2 separate regions of the Homo sapiens genome follow, and region 1 is linked to region 2. The links are contacts of gene promoters, found by promoter capture Hi-C in blood cells and fetal thymus (Javierre and others, 2016). All regions are on one chromosome and are shown on one strand. Each heading gives the region's core, a stretch centred on a gene start or on the middle of the fragment in contact. The rest is flanking DNA. Distances are from core to core; before and after follow the strand shown. Region 1 holds the start of RANBP6 (RAN binding protein 6). Region 2 holds the start of RCL1 (RNA terminal phosphate cyclase like 1).

Region 1 (3,669 bases), core at 213-2,712, 1.2 Mb after region 2:
CATGTAAGAGGTCTGAGGGTCATCATCTTCCATATTATTTAAGTCTGATTGTGTCTTCAACAACAGCTGCATCACATTTGATGCATCTTGCATAAATTTTTCCTTCCCAACAGCAAGACCAATATGGCTAATGCACTCGATAGTTTTTCCTCTCAGAAGCTTGAGTTCCTTCTGAACAGCAAGCTCAACAATGTGCTTTAGTGAGGGCATGAATATATCATAATATGGGACAAATTTTTCTTCTATTGTATCTGCAACTGATGCAATGGTTGTCACAAGTTGTTCCAAAGCCAACTTAGTTCCATTCCGAATCAACTCTTGAAGTTTAATCACCAAGACGGAATGTAGATTTTTCACCATACTATCCACATATAGAACTAGCAATGATTTAGGGCAGTCTTCAATAAAAATAATAAGAGCAGAAGCTGCATGTGATTGCACACGCTGATTACCTTGATTTTCCATGGTACGTAACAGAGCTGCAATCACTGTTTCATGAAATTTCTTTTGGAAATTAGGTGCAAAATCTGTAGCCATCTGTCCAAGTGTAGTACAGGCTGCAGCCCTCACCCTTGGATGAGGATCCTGAAGAAAAAGCAAAACGGAGTTAACTGTTTCATCTAGAATTGATTCCATTTGTTGATGGCATCCTTCTCCAATGGCAGATAAGGCCATTAATCCAGCATGTCGATACTTCCAGTCAGGGCTCTGAAGCATCTGCATGATATGCTCCTTGGTCATTGGTAAAACAACTTTTCCACCAAGCCCACAAGCCAGTCTGTCTAGTGCACTCTCCGCAGCAACTGCATTGCTGTCAAAATCATCTTCTTCCATTTCATCAGCATTTACCCAGTCCTCATCATCTTGTAGATCAACCATCATTGCTAATATATGAGGAACTGCCTGTGCAATAATATTTGTATGTTTTTTCAACATCGGAGTGGCAGTTTCAGACAAGGTCACTATAACTTCGAGGGCCAGCTGGCGCTGCAGATTACTAAGCCTAGAGTCTCCACATAACTTCAAACTCAACTGTAGAGTATCTTCTAAATAAGGACCCAAGTACTTAGGTACGGTATCTGCAATCTCAACAAGGGATTCTAGCACTGAATCATCATCCTGGTAGCATGAGTCATTCACAGCCTGTAAGATTCCAGGAAGCAAGTCTGCAAAGTCTTTGAAAAGAGCAATATTATTCTCATTAGCAAGTACAAATGCAGCTGCAGCTCTAGCGGATAATGTCCTGATTGCTGGATGTTCTTGATCTTGAATACACTGGTCCAACAACCGTTTGATGATATCCAAATCATGCCGCTCTTGGGTCCCAAAAATCCCAGGAAAGTGCCAGAAAACGTGAAGTGCAACTTCCCATAGAACCACATTTTTGGAGTAGATTGAATCAATAAGAAACTTCAGACCTTCCGGCCAGTGGTTAGTGCCATCCTCATCTATCAAATTCCTGGCCAGCACTGCAAAAATATCACAAAGTTTTTTCCTCATGCTAGCATGTGTTTCTAACTTAACAGCCAGAATCAGTTCAATCTTGACATCTCTCTGAACATCAGCAGGCAGATTTGGATAAACCTCCTCAAACCCAGAGGACAAAAGCCGTCGTAGCAGTGCGGCAGCCATTTGTCTCACCTCATAACCTGCTCTTCTATTTCTGACGGCATCTAAGAGGAAGGTAGTCTTACACAGACCTGGGATATTTTCATAGATTTCCTCTGCTTGCCTCCGCACCATACAGCTTGGATTGATCAGGTTCTTCAGAAGCTGGTAAAACTCTTGCTTTTCTGACACGGTCGCCGGCACCCCTGCAGACGCGGTTGCCGCCATTGCGCTCTGTCAAAGCTACCGCGACCGGGAAGGAGGGAGGGGGTCTGCGGCTCGAAGCAGTGACGTAGGCGAGGCGCCGGCGGGGATGGGCGGGGTGCTTCTCCCTCCTCTGCCCAGAAACTCTAGCTGCGCTCTGGCAGGCTGCGAGCTAGGTTTTGGAGAGAGGTGAGAGCCGTGTGGAGGCCAATGGCATCCTCCATTTGTTTTTCAATAAGATAAACGTGCACTTGCAGGCGAGAGAAGAAAAGCATTGATTAGAATGGGATCATGACTTTTTTTTTTTTTGGATACAAGGTCTGGCTGTGTCACCTAGGCTGGAGTATAGCGGCGCGATCCCTGCTCACTGCAGCCTCAACCTCCTGGGCTCAAGCGATCCTCCCCGCCTCAGTTCCCCCAGTAGCTGGGACCACAGGCGCGCGCCACCACGCCCGGCTAATTGTGTTTTTTATAGAGACAGGGTTTCGCCATGTTGCCCAGGCTGGTCTCGAACTCCTGGGCTCAGGTGATCTGCCCGCCTCGGCCTCCCGAAGTACTGGGAATACAGGTGTGAGCCACTGCTTCTGGTCAGATTATGAGTGATTTTTTTCTTTTATTTCTAAACTATATTGTTACTTTGATAATTTTAAAACAATAAGTCTATCTTGAAAACATGCCAAGTGAAAGAAACCAGTCACAACCACATATTGTATGATTCCATTTGTATGAAAGGTACCAAACAGGCAAATTGTATAACAGAAATTAGTGGTTGCCAGAGGTTGGGGGGAGGGGAGGATAGAGAATGACTGCTATCAAATAGGGTGTTTCTTTCTGAGTGATGAAATGTTCTAAAATTAATTGTGATGGTTGCACAATTCTGTGATTATACTAAAAACCATTGAGTTGTTAAATTTAAATTGGTGAATTGTATGGCATATAAATAATACTACAATAAAGCTTTATAAAATAATAAGTGTGATAATAAAATAATAATTACTTCCCCACTACCACATCTAATGCAGTAGAGTGGTAGCTCAAAATCTGGTGTGTGTCAGAATCACCTGGCCTGTTGGTTATAATAAAGAATGGGAAAGACAACTGAGTAAAGTATGGTAGAAAGTGATCTGAACTAATAATCAGAAGACAGACTTGCATCCTGGCCTTGTCACTAAATTAATTTTGTATCCTAGGACAAGTTACTCAAGATTTTCCTTGCATCTTGTCTAAACTGAAATATGAAGGGATGCGGTTAACTAGAATCCTAACTAACCATTAGTGGGAAGCTGCTGAGGTTATTCCAAGAAACAAATGTTGATGAAACTAAATTTGTTTCTTTTTTTTTTTTTTTTTTTTGTGAGATGGAGTCTCGCTCTGTCGCCAGGCTGGAGTGCAGTGGTGCGATCTCAACTCACTGCAACCTCTGCCTCCTGGGTTCAAGCAATTCTCCTGCTTCAGCCTCCTGAGTAGCTGGGACTATGGGCGCATGCCACCACGCCCAGCTAATTTTTGTATTTTAGTAGAGACGGGGTTTCACTATGTTTGGTCAGGATGGTCTCGATCTGTTGACCTCGTGAGAGATCACCCGCCTCGGCCTCCCACAGTACTAGGATTACAGGTGTAAGCAACCGCGCCTGGCCAGTTTGTTTCTTTAATTCAGGCAGGTGTGTCAATCAAAAACAAGTTTCATTCCTATAACAATGATTAGGTCTTACTTTTGTATTAGCACTTGCCACACTCATTTTGACCCTTATACAGAATTGAGAGATTGCTAGGATAGATATAATACTAAATTTAGGTGAGAAGTGGAAACTAAGGGAAGTTACAGGATTTGCCTAGGATGACACACCTGAGTCTCAA
Region 2 (3,259 bases), core at 686-3,185:
GTGTCTGTAGTCAACAATAATTTAATTTTCATTTAAAAATAACTAAAACAGTATAATTGTTTTGTTTGTATAATAACACAAAGAATAAAATGCATGAGGGGATGAGTACCCTATCCTTCAGGATGTGATTATCACACATTGCATGCCTGTATCAAAACTTCTCCCGTACCTCATATATACATGTACCATCTACCTACAAAAATTAAAAATTAAAAAAATTATATGGAACCACAAAAGACCCAGAATAGCCAAACCTGTCCTAAGCAAAAAGAACAAAACTGGAGGAATCACATTACCTGACTTCAAATTATACTACAGAGCTAGAGTAAACAAAATGGCATGGTACTGGCATAAAAACAGACACATAGATCAGTAGAACAGAGCGGAGAACGCAGAGATAAATCCACACAGCTACGGTAAACTCATTTTCGACAAAGTTGCCAAGAACATACTCTGGGGAAAGGACAGTCTCTTCAATAAATGATGCTGAGAAAATTGGATATCCATATGCAAAAGAGTGAAACTAGATCTCTATCTCTTGCCATTTACAAAAATCAAAGAAAAATGGATTAAAGGCTGGGAGTGGTGGCTCACACTTGTGAGGCCAAGGTGGGCCAATCGCTTGAGGTTAGAAGTTTGAGACCAGCCTGGGTAACATGGCAAAAACCCATGTCTATACAAAATACAAAAATTAGCTGAGCATGGTGGTGCACACCTGTAGTTCCAGCTAATGGGGAGGCTGAGGTTGGAGGATTACTAGAACTCGGGAAGTTGAGGCTGCAGTGAGTCATGAGCATGCCACTCCACTCCACTTTATAACACACTGTTGTCTACATAAGGCTAGCTACATCCCTTAATCTTAAACTCCCACCGCTTTCAGACACTATCATACCCCGCCCCCCTTCCCCCCGCGAACCCCCGTGCATTCTGGGACTCATGGTTTGGTGAGTGTTGTCCAGGAATGGCTACAAACCCACATTACTATGATATCGGACTTCTACTTGTGTAGTCATTTGTTAGTTAACTGTACATTTTGGAAGGTTTTTGAGTAGAGAAGTGAAATAATCCAACGTTTGGGAAGATTTTCTTGTGCAGGATTGGAGGAGGACGGGAAAGAGGGAAAAAGCATTGCGCGCGTGTGTGTGTGTGAAGTTATTACAACTATCTATCTTGAAGCATGCGAGGTAGGAGGGCCTGAATTGCCATGAAACGCAATGACGATAAACGAAGGGACCCGTGAGAAAGGGGCAAAGAGGTGTCTCAATAAAATAAGCAACGGCCTGCTGTGGGAGGATTCGGGTCTCAGTATAGGCTGCCACTGTCAGCTTTGCAATATTCCTCGAGCCTTTATCCATGAGTAGGACAGGATGGCTCTACCTTGCAGGGTTACAGCATGGAGCTGCGGGACTGCGCCGGCAGTGCGCTGAGCGGCATCCCTGCGATAGGGTGAGTGCACCAACCCTTGTTGTCTCTCTTAGTAAGAAAGAGGAGGGGTAGATAATAGCATCTTCACCCCAGTAGTTGCCGTAAGTAGTAATGCTAAGAATCCGGCACGTCGTAGGCATCAATCTCAGTCCGCCATCTCCCCTTGCTACCACGCCAGGAGGTACACAGAGGAGACTGCCCCGACTGGCAACTCCCGCGCCGGGGTTCCCTGGCCATCCTCCCGCGTTCCCTCCAGCCGCGCGCTGTTGCCAGGGCCCGGGCACCGCCCAGCTCCACTACGGACCAATGGCAGCGCGGCTTGGGCACCGCCCAGCTTCAGCGGAAGCCAATGGAGGCGCGGCGCGGGCACCGCCCTGATCCGGCGCGGGCCAATAGCGGCGTGGCCCGAAGCGGGGGCCGCCCCGGTCGGGCGGGGAGGCGGGGAGGTGGCCACTGGCTCCGCCCCGCTCCCCTCTGACCCGGTGTCTAGTCTCTCCGTCTTCCTGTTCCAAACCACGTGGACGCGTCTGGGCTGCTGGAGGCAGCCCGAGCCGCCGCCGTCGGTGTCGCCGCCACCACCACCATCGGAGTCACGAGTCCCGCGTCTGTCCGAAGTCGCCGCTCTCGGGCTGCTCACGTCTCTTCGGAGAGCGCGCACATGGCGACTCAGGCGCACTCCCTCAGCTACGCAGGGTGCAACTTCTTGCGCCAACGTCTGGTCCTGTCTACCCTGAGCGGGCGCCCCGTCAAAATCCGAAAGATTCGGGCCAGAGACGACAACCCGGGCCTCCGAGGTAACTTGGTGTGGGCGGCGCGCGGCGTGGGCGCGGGGGCTGAGGGGAGACCGAGCTGATGCCGTGGGGGCCCGCGCGGTGTTGGTTGGGCGGCTCGGCGTCCGGCGAGCGCGTCGGGGAGGGCAGGTGGCGCGTCGCCTCCAAAGCCGGAGGGGCAGGCACAGTGGGGGAGGCGGGGTCGGGGCCCGAGGGGAGCGCTCAGCTGCAAGCTGCGCTCGGCGTCTCCGGGGCGCTGGTAGTAAACAGCTGCACGTTTTCCAGCTTTACGTGTAGCAACAAATCCCTGGCGTCGCCCCTTCGCGTCCCTTCGGCCCCTCTTGCCCTCGCCATAAACCTCTCAAAGGAGAAAAACAGTTTGTTGGACCGAAATATGGTGAATGAGCCGGGGGAGAGACATTGGGAGAGAAAAGTACCTTGGGTTGGTTCTCTGCCCTGTCTCAAAGCAGTTCTCAGAAGCAGCTGCCCCCTTGGACACCGGCTGTTCCTGTCGCCATGATTTCTCGGCTGCCCTCACACTTGTCCTTGGGTGTGGATAAAGAAATTTTTAAAATTCTGTGTTTGTTTTCAGCCGTGACTGTGATTGATGTGCGCAGGACAGGAGCTTTGAGATAGACTTTTAACAGTCATGGGCCTAATTGCCTTGACTTTAGAAAAGGGGTCGGTGACAATCGCTAAACTGCAGGCTTCCAAGCTCACTTCTTGCTCTGCAATGGTAGGTTAAAAAGAAATAGGCCCATTTAAACCCACATCTCATTAAATGGCGCCGGTTTTCAACTGGCCTTGGTTTACACCTGGCCCCCTGGCATGAGATACATGCATTTAAAAGCTTCTGACTGGTGGTTATCCCAAGTTGGGCGAGTCAGTAGTCAGGTGAAAAAGGAAAAAACCTGTCTGTAAATTGAAAAAGAGTGTTTGTGGTTGGTCCTGGAAGCTTCCTGAGCGGCGCTGATGTGTTTCATTTTGCACTGGCTCTTGTTTTATCTGTCTGAATGCATTTTTTGGATAGTTAGATCTCTGCCTCTCTTGGGTGGTGATTGGCT

Evidence for each region. The method cuts DNA at HindIII sites, captures the fragments that hold promoters and counts their contacts. A CHiCAGO score of 5 or more calls a contact.
Region 1: a fragment that was not itself captured here is called in contact with the fragment with the promoter of RCL1 in region 2 in 1 of 17 cell types (fetal thymus); the score reaches 5.2 in fetal thymus.

The regions. Positions count from the first base shown.
Region 1 is chr9:6,013,772-6,017,440 of GRCh38, forward strand. It overlaps RANBP6 (RAN binding protein 6), which reads right to left and starts at 1,853. Exons shown (of 1, transcript NM_012416.4): 1 at 1-1,853. The coding sequence starts at 1,836. RefSeq lists an enhancer at 1,672-1,731. The HindIII fragment of the contact is 2,610 bases long and covers 158-2,767 here.
Region 2 is chr9:4,791,009-4,794,267 of GRCh38, forward strand. It overlaps RCL1 (RNA terminal phosphate cyclase like 1), which reads left to right and starts at 1,936. Exons shown (of 9, transcript NM_005772.5): 1 at 1,936-2,219. The coding sequence starts at 2,084. RefSeq lists enhancers at 1,193-1,242, 2,063-2,112, 2,187-2,686 and a silencer at 1,623-1,982. The HindIII fragment of the contact is 3,785 bases long and covers 1-3,043 here.